Linked DNA regions of Homo sapiens: all the other regions are linked to region 2. Evidence: promoter capture Hi-C in 16 types of primary human blood cells and fetal thymus (Javierre and others, 2016). All regions are on one chromosome and are shown on one strand. Each heading gives the region's core, a stretch centred on a gene start or on the middle of the fragment in contact. The rest is flanking DNA. Distances are from core to core; before and after follow the strand shown. Region 1 overlaps TGFBR1 (transforming growth factor beta receptor 1). Region 2 holds the start of CAVIN4 (caveolae associated protein 4). Region 3 has its middle 51 kb from the start of ALG2.

Region 1 (2,700 bases), core at 40-2,539, 1.4 Mb after region 2:
CAACAACAAAAAAAAAAAAACAAAAAAAAAACCCCCACAAAAAAAGTACCTGATCACAGAATTAGAGATTATTATTAAACAAGTAATACAACACAACTATAAAAACAAACCTCTCAAACTCATTCATTTGCTTCAATGAAATTATGGTAACTACAGAAAAAAACTCAACTTTGTAGTCAAAATAGTAACCTCTAAGCATTTTTCCCATGATGTTTTTAAACACATGAAATTGACACTAAATTCCTATGTAATATGTCACTCATTCTAAAATTACTTTGGTTTTAAGATCAAATAGTCTTTCAAATTTATTCTACGTATAAGAGATAAGACATTATCAGAATGCAACTCATTCAGTGTAAATGGCCACTTTCTCTTCCTGACCAAAATACTGTATGGGTTACTCTGACCCTGTATCGGGGAACTGATAGCACTATAAAGTCGAAGTCTTGCCTCAGAGCTATGATAGTTTTTTCTCCCCTCAGAATAAGATCACAGTGATAAAAGGACTTCGAAAACTGTAAAAGCCCTGCAGAGACTTCATAGCATTGGAAGTAAAAACCAGTTATTATAAGCTAGTTTCAACTTAATGTAAGAAGACCATGACAAGTTTGCTTTCAATATTTGACCAAAGACATCTGTAAATGGAGAAAAACCTATACTCAGAATGTTCTTTAGCTACCACCTCTCCCAAGTAACAAGGGTGCACTGAATGCATTACATAAATTACATGTAAGCAGTTGCAATGTACGCACACATAAGGAAACACTGAATTAAAAGCTGCCTTCCTCAAAGTGTAGTGAGACCTCAAAACCACACTAGCTCTAACCTCAGTTACAAAGACAGAGGATCCACCGAACGTTTACTCCTACATACATAACAAATGTGACTTTCTTGCACATCTGTTATCTATTCAAATTATTAACTACCTTCGCCTTCCTAGAAAAAGGCCTATTATTTAATATTAACCATATTCTAATTTTAAATGTAATTCATGTCTTAAAAAATAAGTCTTTGAACAGATAAAGAAAAAAATGGCTTACAGAATACCACATAACTTTTCACAAGCAGCTAGACAGACTTTCCCTTTTAGAAAAATTAGTCTGTATGCTACAAATATTAAAGTACTATAAGCATCTAGAGTGCCACTTGATTTTTTAAAAGTATACTTAGACAACACAATTAAAATGCAAAAGCTTGATGTGAGAATATTCAAACATGACCATGCTAATAATTTACTAATTAATGCCACTTCATTTCTTTAGTGGCTTAAGCACATTTTGGTAGGAGAAAGGCATTTTCAGAATAGAATACCAAATGACATACCACAAAAACCCTTCCAAAAACAAAACAGAAAAAGTTTGGGTTACCCAGATAAATAAGCTTTTTGAATTCAAACACTATAGGTTTTAACATAGAGACTTTCAGCAATTCTACTCATTTCCATTAGAAAGACACAGAAGTGGCACTTACTGGTATAGTACAATCCCATTTTGAAGGCATGTAATGTTCTGAATAAGTGAAAGAACAATAATAGTATACAAAATACAATTGCATGAATTATGTTCCTCACTACTATATGAGGTCATTTTTAGACTCAAGATAAGAGTTTTATAAGTGTTAGTTTTAAGATCCTGAAAAACTATAGAACAGTACATTCAAAGTCTGAATCAAGGAAACTCTAGTGGTTCAGAATCCTCTGAGAATGTACTAACCAGGAGTAAATCACTTTCTTTAGTAATAAGACATGTTTCATTGTAATTCAGCAATCCAACTCCTTTGCCCTTAAAGATGATCTCCAGCACAGCAGAGTTACCTAAAGTTAAGACCAGCAATCATCTTTTTAAAAAACAAGTTTTGTTAATAAAAAATAAAGGTAGACTACACATTTTCTGTCCTGGGAAAGAAGCGTTCATAGTGCACAGAAAGGACCCACATGGCTGTTTCCTGGGTCCAAAGAAATCCTGGGAAGTTTTTAATTGACTTTATTACACTGCTGCAAAAGGAAGCAATATCCTTCTGTTCCCTCTCAGTGAGGTAGAACAATTGACCTCCCAAATTAAAACCCAGGAGCAGATCTGAAGAAAAAAGGAGAGTTCAGGCAAAGCTGTAGAATTACATTTTGATGCCTTCCTGTTGACTGAGTTGCGATAATGTTTTCTTAATCCGCAATGCTGTAAGCCTAGCTGCTCCATTGGCATACCAACATTCTCTCATAATTTTAGCCATTACTCTCAAGGCCTACAAGAAAATATAAAAAAAAAAATTAATGCATGCACCATTTTCCATTGGTCTGGATAAGAATTTTTACGTGTAAATTTTCTTTTTAAATGACATATACACTTGTTATTGTTTAAGCATTATTTGTAATAGCAAATGAGTAGAAATTACATAAATTTCCATCAATAGGGTACTGGTGCCAGTGCTGGAAAGCAGGTGGACAAAGAGTGACTCATTTAGCAAACCTGAAAAGGCCGAATCCTAAACCAGAGCTGGGCAAAGCAAAGAAGAAATCTGACCTCACACTGAAATTTTAAGTTTGTACTTTGAAGTATTCACATCAAATTTTTCTTTCTTTTTTTTTTTTTTGAGACAGGGTCTCACTCTGCCGCCCAAAGTGGAATGCAATGGCATGCCCTCAGCTCACTGCAGCCTTGACCTCCCAGGCTCCAGCAATCCTCCCACTTCAGCCTCCCAAGTAGA
Region 2 (2,700 bases), core at 35-2,534:
GAATGTTCAATTTTTTTCCTTTTAACTGTAAGAGTTTTGAAAATATACCATAGATATTATGCATTTGCCATAAATATGTTCCTATTTCCAAAAATATGAGTGCCAAGCGCAGAATAATATGGGAACTTAGCTCAATACACAATGCCACACACAAAATATTATATTAAATCACTTAAGTAAAAAGACTTTGTAATCAAACATAGGAAACTACTTATGTGACTCATATATTTGTATTACTATAATAATAAGAAAAATAATTGCCTCATTGTTCATTGGAAAATCGCTATCATTGTGATCTATATGTAAAAATTCCAATACACAAATCACATTCTGAAAAGTTTATATCTACTGTTTAGGCCTTTCCAGGCTCTCCATATAAGCAGAAAAAACCACTGCTACTGGTTGTCAGTTTCTTCTTTTAGAGAACAAAGAAGTGTTTTAAACTAGAGGCTTCTGAGTCTTCTTCTAGTTCTAACATTTTCAAAGTCTATGAGAGGGCTTCATGCTAATAAGGCTAATATGCTGAAAGGGCCTTACCAATATTAAGTTTCAAAGGCAAGAAATAGCCTAAGCTATGAGCCACAGTTCATATTACATGAAATGGTTGAGAAGCTCAAAATACCGAAATGACAGATAGTACTTTGGTTAACAGAGAAATGGTTTTATCCTGAGATTGCTGCTAATACAGAACTCCATTGTATTAATATATACAATAGTTAAGATGTGACACTGGAAACCTCTGATATGACTTTTGGCAATTAAAAGATGCAAGAGATTAGAACAAGCAAGCTGAACACAAGTGCAAGCTTACCTGGAATATTACCACGCGGAATTTGTTTTTCTTCATTATTTCCTCTTGCTTGACTTCAACTTTTTTAACATGAATTTGTTGCTTCTCCACCCGGGCTTTCACATCTTTAATGTGAGCACTAACTTTTCGGGTTTTCTCAAACAATTTGTTAATGATATGCCCTGTATTGCTATGCGACTGTGAAAGCTTCAACAGGTCAATCTGGACGGATTTTATGGCATTTTCCATTTCCCTGTGTCTCTCTTCTATTCTCTTCTGGCTTGCCTGCACACTGTCCACGATGGAGGCTACTTTGTCCAGCACAGTCACAATGGTAAGAGCAGCGTCTTGGTCTTCATCTTCTGTAACACTCGACAGGCGATTCTGGTGGATTTTATCAGCATTTGAAGCAGACCCATTATGTTCCATTTTATTTATTTCTCAGCGTAAGATGTCCTAACCACAATCAATTCTGGCACTTGGAGCAAAAAGTCAGCTTGATAACAGGCAACAGGGTTGTTTAAAGAGTTGGAAACCCCACCCCTAGAGAACGGTCAAGTATTTATAACTACAAATACCCATATGTGACTGTTCTGCAATCTGAACCCTTGCAAAGCACCGGGGACTGTTCCAAACATGCTTGCTGACTGACTAAGGGACTCAAATAAGACTGTGTGGGTAGAAGAGTAAAGCTTTTTAAAAAAGTTCACTAAAGCCACCATGTAACTAATATTAAACCTAGAAGCCAAATGATCAAAAAAGCAAACTCCAAATGTTGGGTAAAGCTTTTGCCTTTAGATAATTTCAATCAGTATTTGTAACAGTAAAGGGGAATTCTGAACCGAAATCTGCTTTTTCTACTAATTTCACATATTAAATATACTGAAACACCAATATCAAAAAATTTGGTAAATAAACACACCAAAACAGAGGCCATATAGTGAAAACATTATATTATAACATGCTTTTCCAAACAAAATATTAAAATTAATAATTTTTAACATATTCTTTAAATTCTACATGCATACTTTTGAATATCTAAACTACATGTTAAACAGCTGAATACATTCTACTCACACTTCAGATCTTTAAACACCAACAATCTATGAATATTAATCTATTACTACAGGACAAATTTGGATATACGTCTTGGATAAATTTTAAGCTCACTTTAAGAGCACCAATCATTAACAATCATTTTTGTATTTTATTCACAAACACTGATACGATTTGTTTATTTATGTTAAAACAAACATTTTCTTTAAAAATGAATGTGTATTAAAGTAGTTTAACTGGTAGAATAGGCTTTATTCCAATCTGTTTGTTAAACAGCCTATTTTCACAATATCTATATCTACTTTTCATTGATCTGTTCCATCATTACTAACATATTTGTTCAAATTATTAGGACTATTTTTTCAAAGGGAGGAATAATCAAATTCCCCAGTCCATATATCTTATAAATATTTTACACCTAATACACACAGCTTTACAGTTCATGCGATAGGCAGTGTCTAAAAAATCAGTTACTAAATCTCAAAAACATTTAAATATCTATTTAAACACAGTGTCTTCTAGATTTTTTTTGTAAGAAAAGTAATCTGTAAACATCTTTACCTTTAGTTCATGCTTGGTCATTTGCTGTGGTCATTGTGGAAGAAGTGGATATGACTTTATAACCATTTGTGAAGTAGTCCATCTTTGCAAAAATATTACATTCCATGGGTAAAGAACAAGTCTTAGAATTACCATGTGGTACAAATTTGTGAAAGCAATTTCTGTATTTAAAAACATAAAACAAAGACTACTAAACAGTCCAAAACTGTCGTAGCTGAATATTCTAAATACGAGCCAACAGTACTACACTAAAAATGTCCAAAAATAAGGCCTCTGAAATAAATATTTCCATT
Region 3 (2,700 bases), core at 169-2,668, 1.4 Mb after region 2:
GCATGGCGGCACTTCCAACGACACAGAAGCCCGGAAGTAGAAGCAGTACAGGGGAAGCTAATGAGCTCATTTTGAGCATGGCAAGCGTGAGATGCCTGCAGGACTCCCAAGTAGGAGGACTCCCAGGTGGTTGATGGAGTCTGAGGCTCAGGAGTTAAATCTGGCCCAGTATAGAGATTTGGGAGTTGTCACTGTCATCATCTTCCTCCTCTTCCCCTTCTTCCTCATCTAGTTGGTAATGGGGCCACAGAGTGGATGAGGCCACCCACGGAGAATATGTGACCAGAAGAGAAGGGGCCAGCACAGAAAATCCTGTGGGGACTGGCAGAAAGAAACGCCTGGGAAACAAAGAGTGCTATCATGGAAGTCAGGAGTTTCAGAGGGGAGGGAGGGAGTGAGTGGGCAACAGCAGAAAATCCTACAAAAAGGTCATATAAAAAAACAAAAACAGAAACCTACACAGTGTCTCCTGGACTTAGTAACAAGGAGGTTGTTTTAAACTTGAGAAAGGCAGTTTCTGTGGGGCAGTTGAGGGCCAAAGGTCAACTATGGAGAATTGAGAGTGGGTGGGAGGTGGGAAAACGCAACCTGTGCAATGTCCCTTTGGAGAAGCTCGACACCAGCTGGAGGACCATGGGGGACGGCAGGGCTGATTTAGGAGGGGCGTCCCCTGAGAGTATGCCCTGTGCTGTGGGGAGGATGCAGGGGAAGTGAGCGAGTGGAGACCTGCAGAGAGACGATGAGCCCGAAGGAGCCTGGAGAGGCGCGAGACCAGAGTCCAGATCCAGATTGGGGGTTGAGGCCAACTCTGCAACCAACTACCACCAACAAGGCAGGCCCTATAGACAGGGCAGGCTGAGCCCCAGGGGGAGGAAGGGAAGCTAAGCAGGCCCCTCCTGGAGGGCTTGAGTTTCTCAGGGAGGGAGGTGAGGTTGTCTGATGAGGACATTAAGGCAAGTCAGGAGGCTGTGAACAGTTGCCCTGGGGAAAGAAGGGTACTGGCCAGGGGTCCCCAGGGCTACCAAATGAGGAGGAGACCATGAGTATGCACAGGAAAGGAAGGCTGGGCTCGAGGGATGCCCAGGGTCAAGTGGGCAGGACCCTCCATTTGCTGGGCTGGGGGTACAGTTGCCACTCAACCCAACTGCACAAGTGGGGAGGGACAATGGACGAAGGCCTTCGGGGCTGCCTGGAGACACCGCAGCTGCTCTCCATTTGTGAGAGGGAGCCCCCTCCTCTCCATCCCTCCCTCTCTCCTCTTAGAAGCATCCCCCTTTCTACCCGCACCCCCAGCCCCACCCCTGCTCCCCGGCTTCATGCAAGTCCACATCCTGAGTGCCTGGCATCAGGCACTGAGACCAGAGAGGACAGAAAGCATGTCACACCCACACACATCGGGCAGGGTGGATAGGAGCCCCCAGCCAGGAGGCCTCCAGCTAGTGTCTGACCCTGGGACCCTGAGGCCTTTCTCAGCCTGTTTCCCCATCTACACAGTAAGAAGGCTGTCCCCAGGAATCCCTAAGTCCCCTGGCCAGTGCAGACATTCTAGAGAGTGAAGATTTCTTTATGAGTGTGTTTTTCATCTGAGCTGCTGGCAAGGGAGGGCAGGGAGATGCGGTGCAGGGCTGAGCTCAGAAACACAGACACAGAGTTAACTGCCGAACTGTCTAAACAAGATCTGAATGGAAACGCTGCCCTGTTAATTAATGGCTGCTTTTGAGGTTATTAAGTTAGACTGGGTAGGTGTGTGGCCTTTCTTTCTACTGCCCTTCCAATTAACAGGCACTTTGCTTGGTAAATGTTAATTTAGAGTAATTGGGCGTGCAGAGGAGGGGAGTGCAGGCGGGGGAAACAATGGTCCCTCTACTGTAGGTTAATTGCTAGTAAACGTTGTTCCCCGCAGCCCTGGTCCCAGATGAGGATGATTAATGGCCATGGAGTACTGGCTGAAACCCTCAGGGGTCAGCAGAGCTGCGGCAGGTTTAACCCCTCAGTGACCATGATGAGGGCCAAATCCCAGTGACTCCTACTGGGTTTATGAGCAAGAGAACTTGAGGTGTGCTCCTCACCTGTGAAAGAGGCTAATGGGGTCGCTTCTTGCAGGTAAGTTAGGAAAGTCAAGCATCAAGTTGGCAAAAAAAAATGCTTCATTCCACTGATAGATGGAATAACTCGTTGCAGCCGTGATTACCCTGGGTAGTATCATCTAAGGAAATAACATTGATTTCCAGAAAATAACAAAACAACAACAACTACAACAAAACTCCAACGCCCCCCACTTAGCCTCTGCTCTCACACAATCTGTTTCAGCCAAGTCAACCTGTGACAGTTTGATGTGTGAACTTGTGAACAGTCCCATATTCAAGCAAATGCTACTCTAGGAATTGCTATGAAAGTATATTGTAGATGGGGTTGAAATCAGTGGACTTTGGATAAAAAAGATTGTCTTGGATAACCAGGGTGGGCCTGATTCAATCAGTCGAGCAGGGCTGAGGCTTTCCTGAAGAAGAAATTCTGCCTGTAGACTGAGGCCATAGATCCTGTCCCAGGGCCCCAGCCTTCCTTTCCTGACGGCCTGCCCCTCAGATTCCGTAATGATGTAAGCCAATTCCTTGCAATAAAACTCTTAATCTATATCCCCATCAGGTTCTTTTGGAACTCTGATTGATACACAGCCCAAAAGTGACTCGGGCTGGAGAC

The links. Contacts are between HindIII fragments. The CHiCAGO score rates a contact against its expected background, and 5 or more counts as called.
Region 1: a fragment that was not itself captured here is called in contact with the fragment with the promoter of CAVIN4 in region 2 in 1 of 17 cell types (total B cells); the score reaches 6.7 in total B cells.
Region 3: a contact is called between a fragment that was not itself captured here and the fragment with the promoter of CAVIN4 in region 2, in 3 of 17 cell types (M0 macrophages, M2 macrophages and fetal thymus). The highest score is 8.4, in M0 macrophages.

The regions. Positions count from the first base shown.
Region 1 is chr9:99,148,718-99,151,417 of GRCh38, reverse strand. TGFBR1 (transforming growth factor beta receptor 1) reads right to left here. Exons shown (of 9, transcript NM_004612.4): 9 at 1-2,238. The coding sequence ends at 2,113. Among named protein-coding and RNA genes, the nearest start is that of TGFBR1, 45 kb to the right of the region's middle. The HindIII fragment of the contact is 187 bases long and covers 1,196-1,382 here.
Region 2 is chr9:100,576,663-100,579,362 of GRCh38, reverse strand. It overlaps CAVIN4 (caveolae associated protein 4), which reads right to left and starts at 1,284. Exons shown (of 2, transcript NM_001018116.2): 1 at 812-1,284. The coding sequence starts at 1,219. It overlaps MSANTD3-TMEFF1 (MSANTD3-TMEFF1 readthrough), which reads right to left. Exons shown (of 10, transcript NM_001198812.1): 10 at 1,727-2,700. It overlaps TMEFF1 (transmembrane protein with EGF like and two follistatin like domains 1), which reads right to left. Exons shown (of 10, transcript NM_003692.5): 10 at 1,727-2,700. The HindIII fragment of the contact is 485 bases long and covers 1,000-1,484 here.
Region 3 is chr9:99,169,359-99,172,058 of GRCh38, reverse strand. No RefSeq gene overlaps it. Among named protein-coding and RNA genes, the nearest start is that of ALG2, 51 kb to the left of the region's middle. RefSeq lists enhancers at 398-567, 594-1,376. The HindIII fragment of the contact is 5,684 bases long and covers 1-2,700 here.